Regions from separate parts of the Homo sapiens genome. Here all the other regions are linked to region 2. The links are contacts of gene promoters, found by promoter capture Hi-C in human tissues and cell types (Jung and others, 2019). All regions are on one chromosome and are shown on one strand. The core of a region is centred on a gene start or on the middle of the fragment in contact, and the rest is flanking DNA. Distances in the headings are between cores, read along the strand shown.

What was found. Contacts are between HindIII fragments. The study calls those that stand out against the background at their distance.
Region 1: a contact is called between a fragment that was not itself captured here and the fragment with the promoter of CDX2 in region 2, in 1 of the 25 tissues and cell types used here (spleen).
Region 3: a fragment that was not itself captured here is called in contact with the fragment with the promoter of CDX2 in region 2 in 2 of the 25 tissues and cell types used here (IMR-90 fibroblasts and heart right ventricle).

The regions. Positions count from the first base shown.
Region 1 is chr13:27,538,789-27,542,162 of GRCh38, reverse strand. No RefSeq gene overlaps it. Among named protein-coding and RNA genes, the nearest start is that of LNX2, 80 kb to the left of the region's middle. The HindIII fragment of the contact is 4,687 bases long and covers 1-3,374 here.
Region 2 is chr13:27,966,927-27,970,760 of GRCh38, reverse strand. CDX2 (caudal type homeobox 2) reads left to right here and starts at 1,446. Exons shown (of 3, transcript NM_001265.6): 1 at 1,446-2,295. The coding sequence starts at 1,755. RefSeq lists enhancers at 1,520-2,211, 3,596-3,834. The HindIII fragment of the contact is 6,465 bases long and covers 1-3,834 here.
Region 3 is chr13:27,464,066-27,467,773 of GRCh38, reverse strand. No RefSeq gene overlaps it. Among named protein-coding and RNA genes, the nearest start is that of MTIF3, 15 kb to the right of the region's middle. The HindIII fragment of the contact is 4,528 bases long and covers 1-3,691 here.

The DNA of each region.
Region 1 (3,374 bases), core at 389-2,888, 430 kb after region 2:
TCTTTATTCTGGATGTTAATACTTCGTGGATGATGTGAGGTATAAATATCTTCTCCCAATTTGTGACCTCATTTCAGCTGTAATGATGTGATAAACCAAAGTTCATCATTATAATGTGAACAAGTGTATGAATAGCATATAAGCAGATTCTTTTCTGTTACTTTTGGAATTTGTTATTTTGCCAAGGGTTGTCCATGTATGTTGTGATGATTATTATATGTTTTCTTTCCACCCTATATTAATTTCCTCTGCCTCTCTGTGCTTCATGTTTTCTTCTACCGAATTGTAGCTCTGTTTCTGTTCACTTTGCAGTTACCCTTGAATTTTTCTTCGTGCATATTTAACATAAAGTTTCAACGTGAACAATAGCTCTGTCCCCTCTGCACAATACAAGGACCTGAGACCACGTGACTCCAACCACCCTGAGGTCTGACTTAGTGGCAAGTGTTGTGGCTCCTCCTCATTCTCCTGTCCAGTTAGTGTTATTGTAATTGTTATATACTGTTGGGGTTTGGTTAGATTTCATTTCTGAGCTATGTAAAATACTGAAAGGCTGATGCAAGCACAGTTTATGATAGTTCCTAACATTCCAGTAACATCCCACAAAGGACATGTGGGCAACAGAAGGCCAGAGTGGGATTAATGGCAGCACACTGACCCATACTATCTGAAAGTTGAAGTTGCAATCCAGATATAAGGAAAGACTTTATAAAAGCTTGGGACGCAACAACATTTTCACCATTATATTACCCGTTTCCAAGCAGTCTGGAAATCACTGAAGCAATTTGCCTTTTTATGGGAGGGGTTGGGGGAAGGGCAGTTCAGCAAAGGTCACTATCACCAACTTTTCTAGAGCAAATGCAACTTGCATTGTAAATCCAGAGACATGTTTTCATAGGAAATTTTGGAAGGCAGATTTAGAGGGTTTCGTTTTCTCAAGATACTGTGCACAGTGACCAGTTCTCAAACAGCTGAATCCTCCCTCTCTGTCCTAGCTGTGGCTCTTTTCTCACTAGAAGACCCTGAGGTCTGTTCATTCTGTTGCTGTACCTTCAGAACTTGATACCCATTCTTTTATAAATGAAAGTGGGCTGCTGCTTTATGATTCCTCACATGTTTGAAGCTGTAATCAGATACATGGATGGTTAAAATTAAATCTGAAGTTAACCTGAATTTCAGCTTCTGTGGGCACTTCACCCATTTCATCATGCCTGACACCCATGTTACAGTACATTAATGCCCTGTTAATTCAGACTTAACTAATTTGGAATTTGAAAGCTTAAAGAGAGGTGAGGTTAACTTGGCACTTTATATAAGCAATAAGTATCTTTAATCAACATTGAAAAATGGAAAGTGAGATGTTTCGAGTGCATGCTAAAATATACTGTTTCCAAGTTTCCTTAAGCACTATAAAATACCCAGGCTCATTCGAGTGATGGCTGTGTTGCTTTTCCATGGAATTGTTTAAACAGTTTATCCAGCACCTGCTGTGCACAACACATAGTGAGAGGCTCTGGGTCACTTCCTCACAGCACCTAATTTCATCTTTTACAATGCAGATTTTCTTTCATTTGTCCACCTTGGGTGATCAACAAAACCATATAGATGACACACCAACATGGTAAACTGCTGCCCTGGTAACAGGCTAGGAATTCATGAGTTGAGGTTTTTCTCTTAAGTCTGTCTTGTCTTCTTGCTGAGGGAAAGATTTCAGCTCCCTAAGGTCCTTGTTAGAAAGCTCTTTTGCCATTTTATGGTGTAAATATACTACTAATTAATTTCTATGGCAACACAGAAGCTCTTTAGAAGTGAAGTTGTACATGTAAGCACAGTGCCTAATAGCTATAAAGTGCCTAAGTGAGAAATGCTAAAACTTTAATCACCTACAAGAATAAAAGACTAGGCCGGGCGCGGTGGCTCATGCCTGTAATCCCAGCACTTCGGGAAGCTGAGGTGGGCAGATCACAAGGTCAGGAAATGGAGACCATCCTGGCTAACACAGTGAAACCCCGTCTCTACTGAAAAAGAAAAATACAAAAAATTAGCCGGGCATGGTGGCGGGCGCCTGTAGTCCCAGCTACTCGGGAGGCTGAGGTAGGAGAATGGCATGAACTTGGGAGGCAGAGCTTGCAGTGAGCCGAGATCGCACCACTGCACTCCAGCCTGGGTGACAGTGAGACTCCGCCTCAAAAAAAAAAAAAAAAAAGACTAGCACTTGGAGGACTCACACCATCCCCGCAGGTGGCAGAGAGCATGCCTCCCATCAGGAGAAGGTGGCTTCGCTCCATGGCTGAGTGAGAAGCACTTAGAGATTTCCATTTGAGCTCTATTCACTCACTCACCTGCAAATAACACTTTCAAGATGGGCTATTTCAAAAACTTGGATCAGCATTTGCTTTATTTCTTCAAAAGTTTTCAGTTTAAGGGTGAATTCAACAAGAACTCCCTTCTTTAGATTGCCTGAAAGCTGACCAAGAACGGTTAAGTTAGAGACATCTATTCCCCAGACTCTAAAAGATGAGAAGCAACAACGACTTGTCCAATGTCAAGGTTGTAAGGGTGGCGGCAGCTATTAAAAATAAGGTTTTTTTTGAGATGGGACGAGGTGACTCCAACTGTAATCTTAGCACTTTGGGAGGCTGAAGTGGGGGGATCACTTGTGCTCAAGAGTCCAAGACCAGCCGAGGCAACAGAGGGAGACCCCATCTCTGCAAAAAATAAAAAATTTGCCAGGCGTGATGGTGTGCACCTGTAGTCCCAGCTACTCGGGAGGCTGAGGCGGGAGGATCATTGATCCCAAGAGGTGGAGGCTGCAATGAGCAGTGACTGAGCCACAGCACTCCCGCCTGGGCAACAAAGTGAGACCCTGTCTCAAAAAAATGAAGTTTTTCTTTACTTTACCTAGGTTTAATTGAAAGGTCTCCTTTCACTCACCTCCTCTAGAAATGACCTGAGAATGTCTTAGTTCATGGGATGTGTTTAGTCCCATTCTCCTGACTGCTAGCCTCTCCCACCAGGGAAGCAATACCCCAGAGCCCTTTGTAGATTCACCCCTCTGTGCCTGTTCCTTCCTGCGTGGCTCAGTCCTAAAGAGTTGGAGTCTGGGATCCTTGCCTGGTCTCTTGGCGGCTGTGGGCTAAACTCCTGCTCCTGGAGTCCTGGCCTGTGCTGAGATAGATGGGCACCTGTGGAGGATGGGGGGTGCTCACAGCAACAAAACTCCCTCTGTGGATACTTAGTAAATGTTTGAGGAAAGGCAGTCCTTGTCACCTGTCATATGTAAGTCATTCCAAAGGATATGATGTCCTTGTGTCATCCAGGTCCCCAGTCTAGAGCTACTTTTTCCCCCTGCTGATCCCAAGTCATGGAACCTT
Region 2 (3,834 bases), core at 197-2,696:
ATGAAGGCGATGGTGACAAATATCCGAGCGAAACGCTTGACAATGAGAACAGACAAGTGCAGGTCTCCAGGAGTGCCGCGAGCGCCCGCGGGTTCTGAGAGCGCTCAAAGCCGCCGAGTCAGGCTGCCCAGCCCGCCGGGCCTCGCCGCAGTGATCCTCATTCCCGAATCTGGCAGCGCTGTCAAAGGCTTGTATTAGGAGGTGAACGGCGGCCGCAGGCCCACTCCACGCGGTTGCTGAAACCGAGCTGGGCGCGCGCGGGGGCCGAATCTCGCCGCCTCCGCGCTCCTGTCGGGGCAGCTCCCGATCCCGGGCTGCGCGGCTTCGGTCCCCAAGACGGCCACTTCCAGCCCTAGGCCCCTTGGCCGCAGCGCTTCCCAAACCAAGAGAGATCCTTTCTCAACTCAGAGCTTTTCATTAGCAGTCGTTAATAATGGCCCTGAGTTGCCTTATCATCTCCTGGAAATGAGAAATAAATTTCTTCGGAGAACGTTTCCCTTTGTAAAGGACAGAGAGTTTTAAAGATACAGGTATGATGTAAGACACATAAATACCTAGGTAAGCATTAGCAGAAATTCTCTTTTCCTTATATTTAAGTATAATAAACATACAAGTGTAGCTCAATGAATTTTCACAAACTGACATTCTGTGTAACCAGCAGCCTAAGAAACTGCTTTACCAACGATCCCCTAGCTCGCCTCCAGTTATGCACGCCAATAACCACTAGCCTAACTTCTACCACATGCCCATTACTTCTGTAGTTTAAAACTTCTGATTCTTGAATGTAAACGTTTAACAATAAATCGCTTGAATTTAACTCAAATTTCAAATGTAAGATGAAGTCAGAGATGCAGCCTGAATCTAGGATCATAATTTGTCTTGTGCGGAGGGCGAGTAATTTCCTTGGGCAAGAAAATAACTGGAGGTGACAGTTGTTTGGGGCTGCAGTCGTCCGGGCCAGGAGCACAGGGCGGGAAGGAATGGCCCATCTCTTAGGGCTCTCTGCTTGTCACCTACCAGGTTGGTCAGAAACGTTCTCATCAAAGCAATGGTTCTCTTTTCTTTTCTCTTTGGGACAGAAGGAGTTTCTTGACCGCCCTCTTCCCTGCAAATGCATAAACAACCACTGCTCCTGTCTCCAAGCTCAGATTCCTACCAAGATAGCCTTTTCTCTTCCCCTCTCTTTTGTAAGTCTCTTGATTTCATTCTTTGAACCTGTGATTGGAGGTTAAAGTGCACCAGGTTGGAAGGAGGAAGCTCTTAACAATAAAGGTTTGAATATTTAGCTGTGTCAGGTCGCTGCCCTCTCACGAGCCTCCCTCCCCTTTATCTTTTAAAATGCAAATTATGTTTCGAGGGGTTGTGCGTAGAGTGCGCGCTGCGCCTCGACGTCTCCAACCATTGGTGTCTGTGTCATTACTAATAGAGTCTTGTAAACACTCGTTAATCACGGAAGGCCGCCGGCCTGGGGCTCCGCACGCCAGCCTGTGGCGGGTCTTCCCCGCCTCTGCAGCCTAGTGGGAAGGAGGTGGGAGGAAAGAAGGAAGAAAGGGAGGGAGGGAGGAGGCAGGCCAGAGGGAGGGACCGCCTCGGAGGCAGAAGAGCCGCGAGGAGCCAGCGGAGCACCGCGGGCTGGGGCGCAGCCACCCGCCGCTCCTCGAGTCCCCTCGCCCCTTTCCCTTCGTGCCCCCCGGCAGCCTCCAGCGTCGGTCCCCAGGCAGCATGGTGAGGTCTGCTCCCGGACCCTCGCCACCATGTACGTGAGCTACCTCCTGGACAAGGACGTGAGCATGTACCCTAGCTCCGTGCGCCACTCTGGCGGCCTCAACCTGGCGCCGCAGAACTTCGTCAGCCCCCCGCAGTACCCGGACTACGGCGGTTACCACGTGGCGGCCGCAGCTGCAGCGGCAGCGAACTTGGACAGCGCGCAGTCCCCGGGGCCATCCTGGCCGGCAGCGTATGGCGCCCCACTCCGGGAGGACTGGAATGGCTACGCGCCCGGAGGCGCCGCGGCCGCCGCCAACGCCGTGGCTCACGGCCTCAACGGTGGCTCCCCGGCCGCAGCCATGGGCTACAGCAGCCCCGCAGACTACCATCCGCACCACCACCCGCATCACCACCCGCACCACCCGGCCGCCGCGCCTTCCTGCGCTTCTGGGCTGCTGCAAACGCTCAACCCCGGCCCTCCTGGGCCCGCCGCCACCGCTGCCGCCGAGCAGCTGTCTCCCGGCGGCCAGCGGCGGAACCTGTGCGAGTGGATGCGGAAGCCGGCGCAGCAGTCCCTCGGCAGCCAAGGTAAGCAGAGGCTGCGCCCCTTCGGAGGGTGCTTGGGAAGGCGCGGGTCGAGCCAGTGGCTGCTGCGCGTCGCGCGTCCAGTGCGCACAGGGGCGTCCCGGGCTGTCTGGGAGCTCGGCGCCAGGAGGGGCACGGCCCGGAGACAAATTCGGGGGCCTCTGGCCCGTCGGGGCTTCTCTGACCTACTGAGCCTGGGAGTGAATATTCTGAGTCTCAACACCGTGTTCAGGCGTCCTCTTTCCAAGAGCTCCTCATTCGCAACCCCGGGACACCTTCGGGAAGCTCCGGGGAATGTCGGCGTGAGCACTGCTGGACGCCGGCAGAATCGCGTCCTCCGGCACTTGCTGCGGCATGCATTCCTTGCGTGGCTCCTGGCCGCCGAGGAGAGAGGGAGGCTCGAACCTTCTTGGGCTAGGTCTAGGCCATTTATCTCCGCTCTCTCTTTCCCCATCTGAGCCATCTAAGAAGAGAAGTGACCTGGGGGGGTCGGAGGATGGCTAGGCTGTGTGTGGGACCGGGTTTGGCCACTCGGGCCAATTCAAGGTACAGCGAGCAGGCAGACCAGGGAGAGCTGCTGTCGCTGGGAAGAAGGTGCTAGCCCCAGCTGCTAAGGCGACGGGGGCGCGCCCCGTCTCTGAACCTCTGACCTGTGAAGGGGTCATTTCAAGCAAAAGCTGGAAGGCTAGGGGCAAGAAGCCTAGGGGCAGGCGTCTGCGGAGAGAGCAGGGAGACGGGGAGGAAACCCTGGTGGGAATTAAGCCGCCGCTCCAGGTAGGGGTCATTTCTCCCAAAGCTTCCTTTCAAGGGTGTCAGGGATGTCTGTGAGTGTGTGTGTGCAACTGAAAAAGATCCTAGGTTTGCCGGACTGTGGGGCTCATTGACTCTGGGTCTGCCCCTTCTGGTGTTCGAGTGTGCCTAGAGGTGGCAAGGAAGTGCGGTGGGGAGAGTCCTAGTTGAGTGCCCCTTTTAAAGTCTTTCCCCAGCCCTCAGCGCTTCCGCTTTTCTTGCTTCGCTCCTTGATGCCCCAATTGGGCAGGCACGCTGGTTATGGGCACTTTGCAGAAGTTTATAGCCAATTACAACTGTATAAATCAAAGCGCCCTTTGGGGGCTGTCTCTGGGCATCGGTTTCTGCGTCACTGTGCACATGCTAGGGAGAGTCCTGGTGGGAATGCCGCCGACCGGGGAGAAGGCCACAGATCAGCCTCGGGTGAGCCTCAGAGCTTTGGCTTGGTCCCTTCTCCTAGAGGAGGCGCCTTTCTCCTAGCAGGGGCTCCCAGATCCTGGCTCCCAAAGACCCACTTTCTACAGCCCCTGTCTGGGGCGCGGTTGGCGGGGGTGGCGCACGCCCTAAGGAAGACCTTTGCGTGTCCCGGGAGAGCGGCCGCGGGGTGAGGGCCGGGAAGGGGGCGGGAGGGAAGCCGCCAGAGCCCAGGCCGCGGGGTCAGCAGATGAGAGGCCGCTGTGAAGTCCTGCGCCGAGGTGGCAAGGCCGCAGTCGGCGCCGGGTGCCCTTGTGATGTTAATGTGGGGTGGCCGCA
Region 3 (3,708 bases), core at 178-2,677, 500 kb after region 2:
AAGTACTACCTTTTTGCTTTCCAAAAGAGTAATAGTTTCATCTTCTTAACAGTAGTCTAGTGGGTTATGTTTTGGTTATCTATTATTACATAACAATCTAACTTTATAGCTTAAAGCAACCACTGGCTGGCCAAGGTGGCTCGCACCTGTCATCCCAGTACTTTGGGAGGCCAAGGCAGGAGGATGGCTTGAGGCTAGCCTTTGTAACATAGTGAGACCTCATCTCTATTTTTAAAATAATTTTTAAAAAGCGACCACCATTCCATTAATTCTTATGTTTACAAGGATTGATCAGTGCTCAGCTCGGAAGGTTGATTCTTCTGCTGATTCTTAGGCTGGGCTCACCTGGGGCTGCTTATTCAGCTGCAGGATGAAAGCACTTGGGCATGTCCTGAGTCTCTGGCATGACATCTCCAGGCTCTGACACTGCTTCCAGCCTTCTGGTAAATAAACTGCCAAGGTAGGAATGGGAGGGAGGCAGAGAATTCAGGAGTGCGAGAAGGAAAGATTACCTTTAAGATCAAACCTTTCAGTTTACCTCTGCTCCCCTCCCACCTCACCCCCACCCTGGCTTCGTTCCACGTGAAGGAGGAGAGATGAAAACATCACAGTGCAAAAGTCAGAAGATGGACCTGAAAACCCAAGATAGCCTTATTGCATTTCAGGGGCATGGAAGCCTTTATTTATTTTAAGAACCTTGCTTTAGGATTCCAGATTCCCCTTGAAGCAGTGGGAGTAGAATGCTTCTCTGCAAGTCTTTGTCTGCGTTCATTCTGGTCCCCACATTTGAGTGTGCAATCAATAATTACTACTTTCTTTTTTAAACACGACTTCAGCAAAGCTGGAGTGTCACCAATATAAGAGGCAACTCCGAAACAAAGACTAAAATATATAAATAGCCCCTCTGAAAGCACAGCAAAGGCTGGGCTGTGACCTCCACAGAGGAATCAATATTTCAAATGAGCCTCTGTGCTCTGGGAGCACAATTCTAACCACCCGGCCTGTCTCCACCCTCCTTCTCATCAGCTTCCTCCCCACTTCCCACCTCCACACAAAAGAACAGTGCCAGAAAGCTCAGACATCACCAGATAAGATCTCTGGCAGCACTGCCACACCGTGGCTGTCAGCTGAGACCTTCTGGAAGGAATGTGACCCTCAGCAGAGGACCATGGATGGCATCAGGCCTACATTTAGGAAGTTGGCAATGTCTTCAGAATGTAACTGGAAGAGTTCCAAATGATCAACCTGTCAAAAACCATCTCCCCGGGTGCGGACCTGAAATTTTTCCTGGGTGTAGAATGCAGACAGAAGAGAAGATAAGGGCGAGTTATGGGTGGGAAGACAACATTAAAACGTGGGAGAGGAAAGACAGCCCTTTGTAGGGAGGCAATTTCAGGGGCCATCAAACGTAAACTTCACCTTCCTCTCAGCCTCATCCATCCTGGCCTCCACTGTGGTCCTGCTGAAGGCTTTCTTACAGGTCAGACTCAAGGTGCATGGTTCTTTTGTAGCAGTTCCAACATCACCAGTTTATAGAAACCCTGAACCTGCCCCCGACAGCACTTCATGTAATATTTTATCATAAAGCAATAATAATAATACTAATGTGGTATCTAACATTTAGGAGACATCCCAGCTATATGTTAAAATCACTATCTTCATTTTATAGACAAGTGAGAAACATTTGATAACCTGCCCAAGTAACAGCTAATGAATGTCCCAAGCCCAGTTTTCCCAGATAGCAAAGCCCAAGCTCTTTCCCAGGTTGTCAGGGAGCTCCTGTTCAAGAAACATGCCAACTGGAGGCAGGCCGGGAGGACCCTCAGGCCCGGGAGAGCTGCTCAGCGTCCACCCCTCTAAGAATACCATACGCACATCCTGTTGTTTGAGCTTGTCTGTTTTCCTAGGGAAGAGCAGAAGAAATGGCAGCCACTTGGCAGTGCAAGCAGGTGTCATCTAGGGCATACTGCCAAAACTTGAGCTTTCTTGAAGCAACATTCTAAGAGGAATGTTGTTTACCTCATTTTCCTCCTCATGTGCCTCAGACTCTGGACAGCAGTGATCAGAGTCGGACCATCAGTTTCAGTTGTGGATTATCACCAATACTCAGCAGAGACCTTTAGCAGTCACCCTAACTCAATCATGTTCAACCAAAGCTTTCATTATCCTAACAATGAAAGTCACAGAGCTCTTTTCCCTTTTTATTTTTTTGAGACAGGGTCTTGCTCTGTCACCCAGGCTGAAGTGCAATGGCACCATCATAGCCCACTGCAGCCTCGACCGCCTGTGCTCAAACAATCCTCCTATCTCAGCCTCCCAAAGTGCTGTGGGCTGGGCATTATCCTAATAATGAAAGCTTTGGTTGAACATGATTGAATCTGCTCTATAGATTGAGAATTTTATACCATTTATTACATAGTCTGCTTAAATATAATTTTATACAACAAACTACAGTGATAGGCGTTGTGAGATTCATTATTATATATCTCTTCGGGAAGGCTGGGTGGAAACCCTTTGCGGCCTGGACTCTTCAGTTTTCACATAGAAGTCAAAAATCCTCAGATTAAGTATTTTAGAGAGACCTGAGATCAAGAGATTAATACTCTCTTACATTTGTGTATTCCTTTATAGTTTTCAAAAGAGTTTATCTTTTTGACGGTTGCAATTCTGTGACATTATTATCTTATTTTACGGATGAAAAAGCAAGGGACCAGACCCTCAAAATTACTTGCTCAAGGACCCACGGCAGGTAAAAATATGGAGTTGGGAAATAAATCCAGGTCCTCTGACTCCCACTATGGAGTTCTTTCCTCCACACTAGACACAATTTTGAGAATGAAAGAAATACTGGTATAAATATTCCTTCATGGTAGGTGATTTCCATGATCACCTTTCTAACAGTATTTTTGAGATGTCAAGGAAGTTCTGGGATTATACTCACTAAGAAATACCTAGGTATATATTCAGTTGAATAAGAATATATTATTATTATTACACAGATAACTAGGACACTATTATTTTAGCTACCGTTTATAGAGCAGTAGCTAAGAGCATAGACTCTGGAGACAGATTCCCTAAATCCTGATCCCAGCTCTGCCACCTATTAGTTGGGTGACCTTGGACAAGTTACTTAATCTTTCTGGCCTCAGTTTCCTTACCAATGAAAGGATACATAATAAAAACAATATTACTAAATTATAGATCTTTTAATGAGAACTAAATGAGTCAGTATATGTAAAGTGCTTGGAAAACTGACTGGCACACATGGTAAATCCTGTATGCATTGTGTGTGCAGGGATGTGTAATGTTATTTATTTATTTATTTATTTATTTATTTATTTATTTATTTTTAGTTTTGAGACGGAGTCTCGCTCTGTCGCCCAGGCTGGAGTGCAGTGGCGCGATCTCGGCTTACTGCACGCTCCGCCTCCCGGTTCACGCCATTCTCCTGCCTCAGCCTCCTAAGTAGCTGGGACTACAGGCGCCCGCCACCATGCCCGGCTAATTATTTGTATTTTTTTTAGTAGAGACGGGGTTTCACCGTGTTAGCCAGGATGGTCTCGATCTCCCGACCTTGTGATTCGCCTGCTTCAGCCTCCCAAAGTGCTGGGATTACAGGCGTCAGCCACCACACCCGGCCCATGTTATTTATTAATATATGTCCTGAAGCCATTCTGCTTTTAGGCTGGGGCTAAGTGGGATCTGTAG